2 separate regions of the Homo sapiens genome follow, and region 2 is linked to region 1. Evidence: promoter capture Hi-C in human tissues and cell types (Jung and others, 2019). All regions are on one chromosome and are shown on one strand. Each heading gives the region's core, a stretch centred on a gene start or on the middle of the fragment in contact. The rest is flanking DNA. Distances are from core to core; before and after follow the strand shown. Region 1 holds the start of CRYGS (crystallin gamma S). Region 2 overlaps DGKG (diacylglycerol kinase gamma).

Region 1 (5,511 bases), core at 949-3,448:
GATTACAGGCGTGAGCCACCGTGCCCAGCCTTCTGTTCTATTTAAGAACTTTGATTTCCATTCCATTTTCATTTATTACTGTTTAGGCCGAATTTTCGCTAAACTTCTGACTTTCATATAAACATATTGCTTATAGAACATCAGAAGACTCGTCTTTGTGATGCCCAAATGAAAAAGTTGGTGAAGGTAGTACCATTGTATGTATGTTAATATTAAAGCAACTGAGTGTAGATTTGCAACTATAGTGTGTATCTTCATTTGTGTGATGAAAGAGTTTTATTCTTTCTAGAGTTAAATAAGAGTTTTATAGTTCTTTGTAACTATTTAAAAGGAAATTGCTACTCCTTTTAAAAAATAATTGGAAAGGAAGTATGATTTGTTGGTATATAGACATAGAAATAGTTTTATACTATATTTTAGTCCTTAAAGTATGGAACTTAATGAAATTGTTTAAAAAAATCTTTATTTTTCACTTCCTGCTTCAAATTTTCAATAAACAAACTCTAAAGAATAATTTCCTTTTTTTGTAAAAGATAAATCTTTAGTTTTAATTTTAGAAAAGGTTTCCAGTGTCATTTCTCAAAATAACTAGTAAAGTTTACATTTACTTGGGAAAACCTTCTTTCAGATAAATGAGTGAAATTACCAAATTACCAAATGAGTGAAATGAATCAGATTGCTGATAAACATTGGTTCATATGCTCTCTGGCCATTTAATTAGTATTTCTATCAAAAAACTCTTTTGTATTTCTAAAGTAAAAATTAACCCTCAGAATGTTTAATTCTAATTGAAGTTTACATGGTTTTTATTTTAAGATGAAATTCAAGGAGCAGACCATTACCAAATAAACACTGGAGTAATAGAAATATATTTTAGATATTGCTATTTGTTAATGAAATAAATGGTACTCAGATACTTTTTTTAAAGTTTTAAAGTTTTATAAAATTTTATAAAATTCAGAAAACCAAGCATATAGCTTAATATTTTCTCAATAATCTTTATATTAAGGCACATTTGCCATTTTCTGAATTGACCATAATACATCCCATTTATTAAAATATTTGTTAGTTTTGTTAACAGAAAGATGAGGAAGTTTGACTTTTGAGAATATACTTGATTTTGAGAATATACTTGATCAGTTAAAGTTAAAAATGGAGAAAAGTTAATTTATTGGGTTTTTTTGTATTTACATAAGATGCAATCTCATTCCTAAAGTCAGAGGTGTATTAGGGCCAAAAAATGTTCTCCGATCATGTTCCAATGTTGTATTGTGGGCAAAGAAGACCACCTAGCCAGTAGCTTGTTGTGTTTAGTTAGCTAACCCTTGGCAAATTCAGGAGTCCCACAGTCACTTTTCTACATACGGTGGCACCCTTCTTATGGATTAGAGCTCTTTTTTTAAAAAAAATTGTGTTTTGAAAAAAATTAAATAATAGTTGCAAGAATAAGTCAGTGAACTTTAACATACCCTTTATCTAGATTCCATTCACCAGTTGTTAACATTTTGCTACATTCTCTTTACCACTCAACATGATAGTATTGTTTTATTTTTGCTCAACAATTTGAGAATAGGTTGCAGACATCTTGAACCTTTCTTCTAAATGGTAGCATACATGTCCTGGAAACAGACATACTCTTACCTAGTCATAGTACAATGATCAAATTCAAGAAGTTAAACTTTGGTACAATAGTATTATCTAATTTACAGTCCATATTAAAATGTTTTCTGATTGTCCCAGCAGTGTCTTTATAGTGACTTTTTTCCCCAAACACAAGATCATGCATTGCATTTAGTTGTCATGTAAGTTTTGTTGCGTTTAGAACATGTCACTTCTGTCCAGAAATAGAGGTAGTCTTCTGACTCTTACCTCTCACAAGCTTTGTTGAAGAAAAAGGACATTAGGAATTTCAAAGAGGCTGCTTAAAAAAAAAAAGAGAGACTCTTTTGTTCTTAATTTTTACAACTTTGTCTGGGTTTTGGTTTCTTGACTCAGCAAAGTCTGTAATGCAGCCCTGCTTGGTAAGCATTAAAGGCGGTACTGAAGCTTTCCTTTATTTTATAATCCCAGTTGTTTTTTCTAGAAACCATCAATAGCGTCTAAATGACTGACTCAATTTTTGGATCCTATTCTCATGACTAAGCAAATGTTTGACTGAAACCAGCCCATATAAATGTCACTGTGCCTCTAACTCTCTGTAGCCATTCCTGAATTTCTTTCAGCACTGGGAAAACCAGTCTATGCACCAAAAATGTCTAAAACTGGAACCAAGGTAAGTAGTCATATTGATTTTTAGCCTACCCGCTTTTCACCTAATGATGCATTCAACACACAGAAAAGCTTTTGCTTCTTTGCCTAGAGGTGAGTATGATAGTGGTTAGAGAACTGGGATTGAGAGAGAAGATTAAGAAATGCTTATTATATTTTCCACCCTTAACAGAATTACCGAACACTTTATTAAGGGTTTATCTTTATGTATGGTGCTATGTTAAATACTATACAGGTAATTTATAAATATCATTATTATTTCTGCCTTCTAGCAACTAATATTCTATGCAACTGATATTCTCCATAGGAATAAGGCATGCTAATGGGGATTATATTGAGCAGAAAACTTTTAATAATCAATTAAAATTTTGTTTTCTGAAATTTAGCCTCAACCATTTGTGTTCTAAAAGGCCAAAGTGGATGGGCCAATCAGGTGAATAAAGTCCTACATCTCTCTTCCATTCAAGCAATTATTTTTACTCGTTCCTCAAATAAAGTGCTCCCTTACAGTCAGAAAATTGCCTCTAAAATATTTAACTCACAATTACTGGATTGGAAATTATTCTTTCAGGTAGGGCTTTGGGAATGAGGGAATATGCTTTCATTTTCTTTTTTGCGCTTCCACTGATGAGACAAAACTGCTGCCTGATTTTTACCCCCAGCTATTTGAAAATTTTCAAACCCATTGAATCCTCAAAGAATGGCAAAGAAATGTTGAATGAATATTTGTATATCTTTCACTTATATTCTCCAGTTGTTGACATTTTGCCATATTTGGTCTCTCCTATTTCCATCTCTCTTTATTAAACCATTTGAAAATTAGTAGCAGATTTTATTATACTTTTGCCTTAAGTATTTAGGCATGTATCTCCTAAAAACAAGGGCATTTCCCTGTATAAACACTGTATCACTAGCATGTCCCCAAGAGTTATCATAAATATAATAGCTAATATTGAGACCATATTCAAATCTCCCCTGATTGTCCCCAGAAAAGTGCTTCATGGTGGACTTTTCCCCTAATACAGGATCCAGTGAAAAACATGTATTGTAATTGGTTGTCATGTCTCTTTATTCTCTTTAGTTTTTTTTAGCCTCTCTAAAAATGTCCCTCTACCCTTTTTGTTGTTGTTCTTGAGACATTTTTCAAAGCCTAGGTTAGATGTCTTTTAGAAAGTCTTGCAATCTAGATTTGTCTAATTGTTTCCTCATGTTTAGATTCAGAATAAATATATTTGGCAAGAAAGCTACATAGGCAATGTTGTGTACTTCCTGTTGCATCAGGTCAGAAGGTACCTGTTAACTTGTTCTGTAATTTATTAGTGCTTGATTTTTTTTTCATTGGAAAATAGAACTAATAATCATGCTTGTCATTCAGGAGGTTTGGGGAGAAAAATTAGTGTCTTCAGTGCTCTGAGGTTCTTGAAAATATACCATGCAAATCCCACTAAAAAAGAATTTTTGGTCCTTAGAGGAGGGATATCCATGTATCTTGAGGTAAAGCTGTTCTACAACCATCTTAGATGAAAACATCTGCTTTTAAAGATTTGCAGAGTAGTAATAGTGTACTCTTTTTTATTTATAGATGAGTCGTTCATTTAGTTAAATAACTTTTGCTTGCTAGGGTAAAGGAGATAGTAAATTATTTCTTACTTTTTCTCATTGCTTCTTCCTTTCCCACTATCTTGATAGCAGTTTAATCAGAGGAGTTATGGGCTTGGCAAAAGGAATAGATTTTACTAAGTATGTTTTCATTACTTCTGGGATACTCAAGATATTTTTCTCTCTGCTGCATTGGATTAGTAGGCCATTTTTCCAAAAATAAACCTGATAATGATAGGAATTTTGTAATAATTTCTAGGAAAACTTTCTGCACATTTCTTTAGCCTTCTCTACAAAATATTTTGCCCAAAGGTCAAAACCTCTAGGCTGACAATAGCATGGATTTCATGGTTATTCTACAAAAAGAAATTGAGCACAGCTAGGTGCAACATTCTCTGGCTCTGAGATATAGAAGGTCTCCCACTGAAAGGAGAGCTTAGTCTTGGAGCTCAGTAATGATTCCATAGCAACAGGATGAGGGCTTTGTTTCAACTTTTGGATGGTTGGCTGGTCTCCTGGGAGGGTGGACATCAGGTGACCGTATCAGGCATCATGTATCTTTTTACTTAGCAGATATTGATAATTAGTCACGCAAATGTGCAGAAGGCAGTAAATGTGAGAAACTATGAAGTGAAATAGATGGTATTATTAACTTCATTTCCCATAGGATATCTTTTGCAAAGGCTCTTTTTAGTGACTTGTTTGGTCAAAAACCAAAGGCAAATAGAACATATGAATTAAGGAGTTTAGAATCTATCCATTCTTAGAGAAGTTATTTGACTTTCCTAAAGATCTCTCCACAGGTCATGAGGAAGAGCCCCTGAGGCTTAGGCCCAGCCTTGGTCATTGTCCAAGAGAGTAAGTGCTGCCATGTTAAACGAAGCTAACTGGGCAGGCAGAAAGACAGCAAAGGAAAATAAAGTGAACAATAGTTTACTCACCAGGAGTTTTGCACTGCAGCCCACCAGCTTGTCTGCAACTAACTTGTAACTAGGTAGTGACATTAGGCCAATCACTTAACTTCTTCATCTGTAAAAACTGTAGCAAAAGCTTATTGCTAATCATGAGTCAGCTATTCAACTAAGTACTTTATCAACATCCCCTTGGACCCTCAGAGCATACCGTCTGCAAGAGACACTATCATCCTGTTTTGCCAATGAAGAGCTGTAGAGAAAGGTTCATTGCCCTGTCCAAGGTCACGTAGCAAGAAAGCAGTAGTATTGAGACTTTTCTTTTTTTTCTTCATCCGTAAACTGAGGTACCATATATCTAAATCTGTACTGTGCTAAGATGGGAAGGGAACTGAAACACATAAAGAAATTTGGGCAGGGGATAAAGGAGAGGAAGTAGATGATTTAGGGGTGGGAAGGAAAAGGGACCCTTTTAGGGAACAGGAAAGAGAATAATTGAGATAAATGGGAAGGGAAGGGAAAGATTAAGGTGGAGGGAAACAATTATTAGTATATTAGTATCTAGATAGAAAGAACTACCCAGGATAGAGGAGAATGAGATTTTATAGCTTTTTATGAGTCATTCTTCGTTTCTTCCTCTCATTCCCTCCATCTAATTAGTCACCAAATCCTGAAGTTCTTTACTGTTTTCTCATCATCATTCACATTGGAGTTGCCTTTTGGTTGGCCCTCA
Region 2 (7,118 bases), core at 814-3,313, 320 kb after region 1:
CTTCAGGGTCACCGCCGGGGATGTAGGGTAGAGGAGTCTCCAGGTTTCTTTCCCAGGAAGTTGAGGAAAGCAAAGATCCCCAATCCCAATTCAGCGGAAAAGATGTGCTCCCTGTACTTTAAGTTGGAACTCAGAATCATGAGGCCACGAAGCCAGTTTTATATACAACAATGGAGTTCTACTGTGCCTTTATTGGAGTGTATATCATGAGACATATATATATATATATATATATAGTATACATACACGTGTGTGTATTCTTTTGTTTGTTTGTTTGTTTGTTTTCCTGAGACAGAGTCTCACTCTGTCGCCCAGGCTGGAGTGCAGTGGCCACCTCTGCCTCCCAGGTTCAAGCAATTCTCCTGCCTCAGCCTCCCAAGCAGCTCAGAATACATGCACCCGCCACCACGCCTGGCTAATTTTTGTATTTTTAGTAGAGATGGGGTGTCACCGTATTGGCCAGGCTGGTCTTGAACTCCCAGACCTCATGATCCGCCCGCCTCAGCCTCCCAAATTGCTGGGTTTACAGGCGTGACCCACTGCGCCTGGCCTAATTTTTGTATTTTTAGTAGAGACAGGGTGTCACCATGTTGGCCAGGCTGGTCTCAAACTCCTGACCTCAAGTGATCCGCCCGCCTCAGTCTCCCAAAGTGCTGGGATTACAGGCGTGAGCCACCGCACCCGACCATGTGTGTGTATTCTTAATTAATATTGCCAGCAACCCCTGCAAGGTAGGTCATATTGTGTCAATTCAAAAATAGAGAAACTAAGAGACAGACTAAATGATTTGCCCAAGGTCACATGGCAGGTAAGTGACTGAACTGTGGCTTGAACCCAGGCCTTTCTGCCTTCCCACCAGAACTCCTTCAGCTCCAGTAAGCTCTCTCTAAAACGAGACATTGTAGTTTGGGTACCTAATGGGTTAATTGGCTCTTGTGGGTTAGCCTGGGAACCCAACCTCAACATCACATTGTTTCTATGGGGAAATGTGCTCAGAGTGACAAACAACTGGCTTAACCAAGGAACTTTTGTAACCCGACCTATCATAAAGCAGGCACTGCCTCGTGTTCAGAAAGACTGGCTGGGGAGCGAGAGGGGAGAACAGGATCAGCCAGCCTGCATCCCCTCAGACTCTGTGATCCCGTTCCAGTCTAGCTGTAGGTTTGCCAAGGAACAACCATCTCACACGTCTACAAATAGCCACCATAGTACCTACCGCAGGGGGTAGACGTGAGGATCAAAAGAGCGCGACCCTTGGGTGCATAAAGCAGCCAGTGCAGGTCAGACCCACGGTCAACATTTATGAAGTGGGAAGTGAGATTCCTCTCAACAGCTGGGGGCCGGCAGAGCTCAGCTGGCTCCCTCAGGACCCACCCGGCGGTCACGGTAGTGTGAGGGTGTGGACCTGCTTCCAGGGTTTGCCTCTGCTCCTCCAGACAGTTCCACCTTTTAGTCTTGGTTGATCAGGACCCAGGAAGTCACCTTCCACAGCGAGAGGCTCAGCTCCAGCAGGACAGCCACCTTCTCTAAGCCTTCAAGGCTCAGTTTCTAACACGAGGCCTCACCCACCTGTATCTTCACTGTCCCCACCGCCTTCAGATACCAGTTCCCAGGGCTGATGGATGTGTAAATGCTGGAAAGCACAGCTAAGGAATCACTACAGAACCTCAGGAGTGAGCATTCCTGTCCGCCTTTTCCCCGTCCCTCCAGGCAGGGATTTCTTTTTGTCCCAGTATTTGACTTTGCTCTCCGTTAACTGCCAAGAGCAAGCTTATTCCATGCCCTCCACCCTCCGCCAAATCAGCCTGAAGGGGATTTTCTTTCCACGAATAACTCTTCAAAGGGAGAAAGGATTGCTAAGAAGCAGCCAAACTGTGAGGGTTTTTTCTTTCTTTCTTTTTTCTTTTTGGATGAGGGAAAGGAGCTATTTTCTCTTGGCAAGGACAGATACTAACTGGAAAAACACCCTGGAGACCCAGGCCATCAGGAAAGGAAAACCCTGACAACATGGTCCTGGCCTTGCCTGCCCCTCAGCATTCTCCCCTGAGGGCCACCCCCAAAGTGGTGCCTTTCACAGCACAGTGGCCATTCTCCAGTCAGGCTGCTGGGCCTTTGGAGAGACTCTCTGGCCTCAGAGGGGCAGTGTCTGCGAGCACATTTGGTAACAGTGGATCATGAGTCTCAGGGAAGCCTTCTTGTTGCGGCCTGTGTGTGTGCCCGCACGTGCACACGTGTGTCCTTGTGTGCTGCACTGGGAAAGGATCCGATTTCAGACTTTGGCAATCTTCGTGCTTGGAGTCCTGCCCTTAGGAGGAGATACTGTCAGGTGCCAGACAGAATTCGGAGATCCTATCAATGGAGAATGTGTCCTTGGTCCGCAGAAACACACTGTCTTATATGGAAGAGAAGGGTCACTGTTCAGAGGCAGTAGATTCTTAGGGGCCCAGAATTACCCTTGAAGGGGTACAGAGGCTGCTCTAAATATGAGGCTTATGGGTTTGGCCCTTTGTTACTCTGGGACAAGAGTGGAGACTGGAGACCAATGGGGAGGCCCAGATCATGGACTCTGCTAAAGAGTGTCAGGGTCCCAGCCAACCTCAAGCTGGGATCCTACAGCCATACCGGTGGCGCATGTGGTAGATGTGAGTAAACCCAGCTCACAGGCATGAATGAGAATGACTCACAGCTTTGCAGTCACTAGCTCTGGTGACTTCGGTTGACTTTTCCATTTCTCTCAGGTGCCTCTGGGGCATAGCAACAGGAGCCAGGGAGAGTAAACCAGTAAGGAGTATGGGCTGGAAGACGGGGTTTGTATTCCAGCTCCATACCTCCCAGCTGCATCACCAAGAACTGATCTCGGTTTCCTAAGCTGTACCGTGAGAAGGCTGCCATGGCTTAGAAGAGAACCACCATGGAGCCCTGGTATAGAGTAGTAATTTTACATGTACCCTTTTACTATGGAATAGTGCACTATTTTTATTCATTCTCCCACTGCCTCCCACCATGGGTGCCATATTGAGTAAGACTTTTTTCAGCCATAAAGCTCTTCTAAGTAATCATTTGTTTCCCCATTTTGATTATTCAGGATTCAATTGCCATTCAATCCGTGTCTCTGGTTACCAAGCAGTAACTGATATAACTGATTTAATTCCATTGCACATCAAAAAAATTATAGTTTAACCCACTAGTTAGCCTATGCTGTCTTTATTATGATTAAATGCACAAATACTATTTTACATTAAGACATATTGACAGCAGCTCCTGGACTCCATTTACACTTTGGAAGAACTCTTTGGAACCTGTGATCCCCTGGCTATAATAAGTCCCTGAACCCTGAAGACCTCTTAGTTGCAAACAGTATGTCATCTGTGATTTTACAGTTAATTTCTCACACATGGAAATGACTCAAGAAGTGTCTTCAGAGGTTATTAAGAGGATTCCATAGTTATACAATAAAATACATCCTACTCAAGTTTCTCCCTCCTTCCTCAGCCTTTTTTTTTCTGAGCCCCTTCTTGAGATCTCCCCTTTCCTGTTCTCCATCTTTCTGCCCACTCTTCCTGGTCTCTGGCCTCCAGTCTTCCCATCATTCACCACCCTAGATTTTTCTGAGTGCCATGAACACCAGTCTTGTCCCAAGTATGGAAACAAGCCAGGGAATACCTCGCGCCTTGAAGCTGAAACACATCGAGCCAACACAAATCTGTTGGCAGGAACAGCAGGCACAAGAGTCACATTCAGAGTACAAAAACAGCTATTTATAAAGCCTCCTTCCTGATTTTTGGGTGTTCACTTTCCCTTGAACCAAAGGGGCCACTGCCCCCTCTTGGAAAAGATGATTCCATGCACAGCTCGGTGCCTGAGGATCACTGCGTGCCTGTTCTGATGAGCAGTGAGAGCTGGGGACAGCATGCAGCGTGGATTAGATGTGGTGACACACTCTCTGATGGGCCAAGGCAGCTGGGTGTGCGGGTGACACAGATGGCCTCTGCAGCACCTGTGAGGTAACAGTCAGGGGCCCCTTATAGGACTTGACATCCTGGCCTCAGAGCAGACCCCACCTGCCTTTGCTTTTCTTTTTTTTTTTTTTTTTTTTAACTCTTGATGTAAACTTCGGTTAACATAATCACTAAGCTTCCAAAGGTATTTGAGATTCAAGTAATGTAAAATGTTAACAGGTAAAGTACTGTCAATATTATTACTAATATTTATCAATTATAATTCAACTCTTGTTGCATTTGGCCGTTCTGCATTTCTGTTATACCTGATTTGCTAAATTATTATTTACCTTAGTAATCCAATGCTAGTCTATTATCTTCAGTAGTGGTAGCAATAACACCGCTAATAACCCAGCAAATCCCAAATGGGATTGAGATCATTTGTTTTATATTTTAATTGAGATGAACCTGATGAAAATTTATAATTCATATACAGAAATGTCCTGTTGGCTAGCTACAGTTTTCCCAAATGTGTAGTTTTTTGGCTTAGGTTCTTAAAAACTTGAATTAGTTGCCAATTCCAATAATCAGGAGATTTTACATGAAAATATATTTCTGGATTCTCTTTCAAAAATGTCAGTTCTGACAATACTTGGGCCCACACTCCTACACAGCAGCAGTTGTAGAACACGTGAGTCCTCCCATCCTGTTCTGAATTGTGTCATCTCAAGTTGTCTGGGGAGCTTGGAGAAACCTTGGAAAGCAGTTGGTCCGAGTCTTTCATTTTTTTTTTTTTTTTTTTTTTTTCAGACGGAGTCTCGCTCTGTCGCCAGGCTGGAGTGCAGTGGCGCGATCTCGGCTCATTGCAACCTCCAACTCCCTGGTTCAAGAGATTCTCCTGCCTCAGCTTCCCGAGTAGCTGGGATTACAGTCATGCACCACCACGCCCAGCTAATTTTTTGTATTTTTAGTAGAGACAGGGTTTCACCATGTTAGCCAGGATGGTCTCGATCTCCTGACCTCATGATCCACCCGCCTCAGCCTCCCAAAGTGCTGGGATTACAGGTGTGAGCCACTGTGCCCGGCCCCAAGCCCTTCATTTTTAAGATGAGGAATCTGAGGCCTGGTGTTGCTGAGTGACTCTCATGAAGTCACATGCTGGTGTGTTTGATAATGGGGTCTGGGAGGCAGCTCTGCCCGCTGGTGCAGCACAGTCTCCACTAAATCATTCTGCCCTCCCCCCATGCCATACAGAACACCATCTTGTGGGTAGCATCTGTTTCACCAGGCCTCCCAATCTAATGCTGACACCCAAGGCCTAACTAACTATGTGAGTTATGAGTCACTCAGAGAACCTGATTATCAAAGTCCAAACCACAAAGAGGAATACCTTCACTTCAAGGGCTTCTATTTCTAGAAATAACTGTAGTGTTCTCTGTGTAGACTTCTAAGCCCAAATAAATGTTTTCATGTTTTGACAACTTCAAAAGCCCAATGCCCTTAAAACTTCCTTGATTCTCAGGAAAGGGTCCCCAGAAGCTCAGGGTGGCATAGGAAGCTGAGTGCGTAGCCTCTGCTGGTAAAGTGAATGGCCAGCAGCTAGCTGGGTTTCACTGTGGACATCCTTGAAAACAGGCTATTCATAGCTGTCAGGATGATGGATTTCAGCCCTAAATTGCTGACAAACATAAAAGAACATTTTTAGTTAGTCTCATTTTTTCTCTCATCTGTCTAATGAAAAGATTCAACTAGCTAGTGTGCAATTGATGTTATTTTCTTATAAGCCAGGGGGCAATTAAGAAAACCCAGAAATAGAGTTGAGCCATGGTGTCACTGTTTGTATTTGCCATTTCTCCATGTGGCTGAGAGTCCCTTGGAGCACACAGGAGGATCTTCTGCCTCAAGAATGGGTTCATCTGGATAGTTCAGAGCCTGACAATGAACCTAGGAGTTTCATGGAACTGGAAATCAGCCTCAGAACAGCTGGTTAAGGATTAGTCATCTCCAGCTGAAAGGTGATTGTAAGAGGGGAAAAAAAAATGGTGGGCCAAAGACTACTCAGGAAGAGAGATGCAGAAAAAGCATTCCAGCAGCCATGAAAACATCGTTAGTTTTATTTTCTTCAAAAAATATGGGCCACCTACGATAGACTCCCCACAGTAGACCCACCCTTACCCCTGCAGCCTGTGGGGAATGCGTCTTCTTCCAGTGATTGTGTCTCCTAGCAACAAGGAAGAACAGCTACTGAGCACTTACTATGCATTAAACACCTGCTTGGTACTTTGCATTTGCCACATAAGCCTCACAACTTTGTGAGTAGAAAATAATGTTCCCATTTTGTAGAAGAAGTGAAGGTTCAAATAATTTAAATAACTTGCCCAGCCAGTGAGTGGCAAAGCCAGTCATGAACCCTAGCCTCTCAGCTCTCAGATGCCATATTCTTGTACAATAGAAGATGAAACAGACAAAAGCTCAGTGCCACATTCTGCAGCAACGGTCCTCCAACAAGGGCTAAGAGTAAAGTAGGAGGGGAGATAGCTTCAAAAGAGAAGAAGGAACATTGCACTCAGGCTCTCTGGTAGTCAGGGAGAGTGGGGGCTGCATCTCCCAGCTCAAATTGTAGGGTACCACGTGCCTATAGGCTTTTCCTGAAGGCTTTGGAAATGGGTGGTGGTGGTGGTGTGCTGGTGTTGACAAAGGAAAAGGAAGACGAGGCAGAGGAGAATTCACTTCCATCTGTGAATGTCCTTATTTGTAGCAATAAGGAAATCTTAGAGTAACCTACCTGTAAGCTTCTTCTGAGAACTGAAGGAGATGGTGTGTGTAAAATGTTTAGCAGAGTGCAAAACCAAAGGGCCATGGGAATAGAATGCATTCACTTCTAGCCAAAAAGTGCCTGAGTTAAAAGAGGAGAAATAGAAGCATTTCCATTTTGAACATATCTAAAAGCCACGTCCCTTGTGGGTCAGAGGTTCAATCTTAGGTCTTGGTGATGCTATTAAAAGTGTATAAGCTCGGCCGGGTGCGGTGGCCTGCAATCCCAATACTTTGAGAGGCCAAGGTGGATGGATTACATAAGGCCAGGAGTTCAAGACCAGCCCGGCCAACATGGTGAAACCCCATCTCTACTAAAAATACAAAATACTAGCCGGGAGTGGTGGCGCATGCCTGTAATCCCAG

What was found. The method cuts DNA at HindIII sites, captures the fragments that hold promoters and counts their contacts. A contact is called where the count stands out against the background at its distance.
Region 2: a contact is called between a fragment that was not itself captured here and the fragment with the promoter of CRYGS in region 1, in 1 of the 25 tissues and cell types used here (aorta).

What each region holds. Positions count from the first base shown.
Region 1 is chr3:186,541,067-186,546,577 of GRCh38, reverse strand. It overlaps CRYGS (crystallin gamma S), which reads left to right and starts at 2,198. Exons shown (of 3, transcript NM_017541.4): 1 at 2,198-2,272. The coding sequence starts at 2,252. TBCCD1 (TBCC domain containing 1) reads left to right here. Exons shown (of 8, transcript NM_018138.5): 8 at 1-511. The HindIII fragment of the contact is 9,271 bases long and covers 1-3,629 here.
Region 2 is chr3:186,216,130-186,223,247 of GRCh38, reverse strand. All of the region lies in intron 20 of DGKG (diacylglycerol kinase gamma), which reads left to right. Among named protein-coding and RNA genes, the nearest start is that of ETV5, 110 kb to the right of the region's middle. RefSeq lists enhancers at 849-1,762, 2,521-2,590. The HindIII fragment of the contact is 6,739 bases long and covers 1-5,432 here.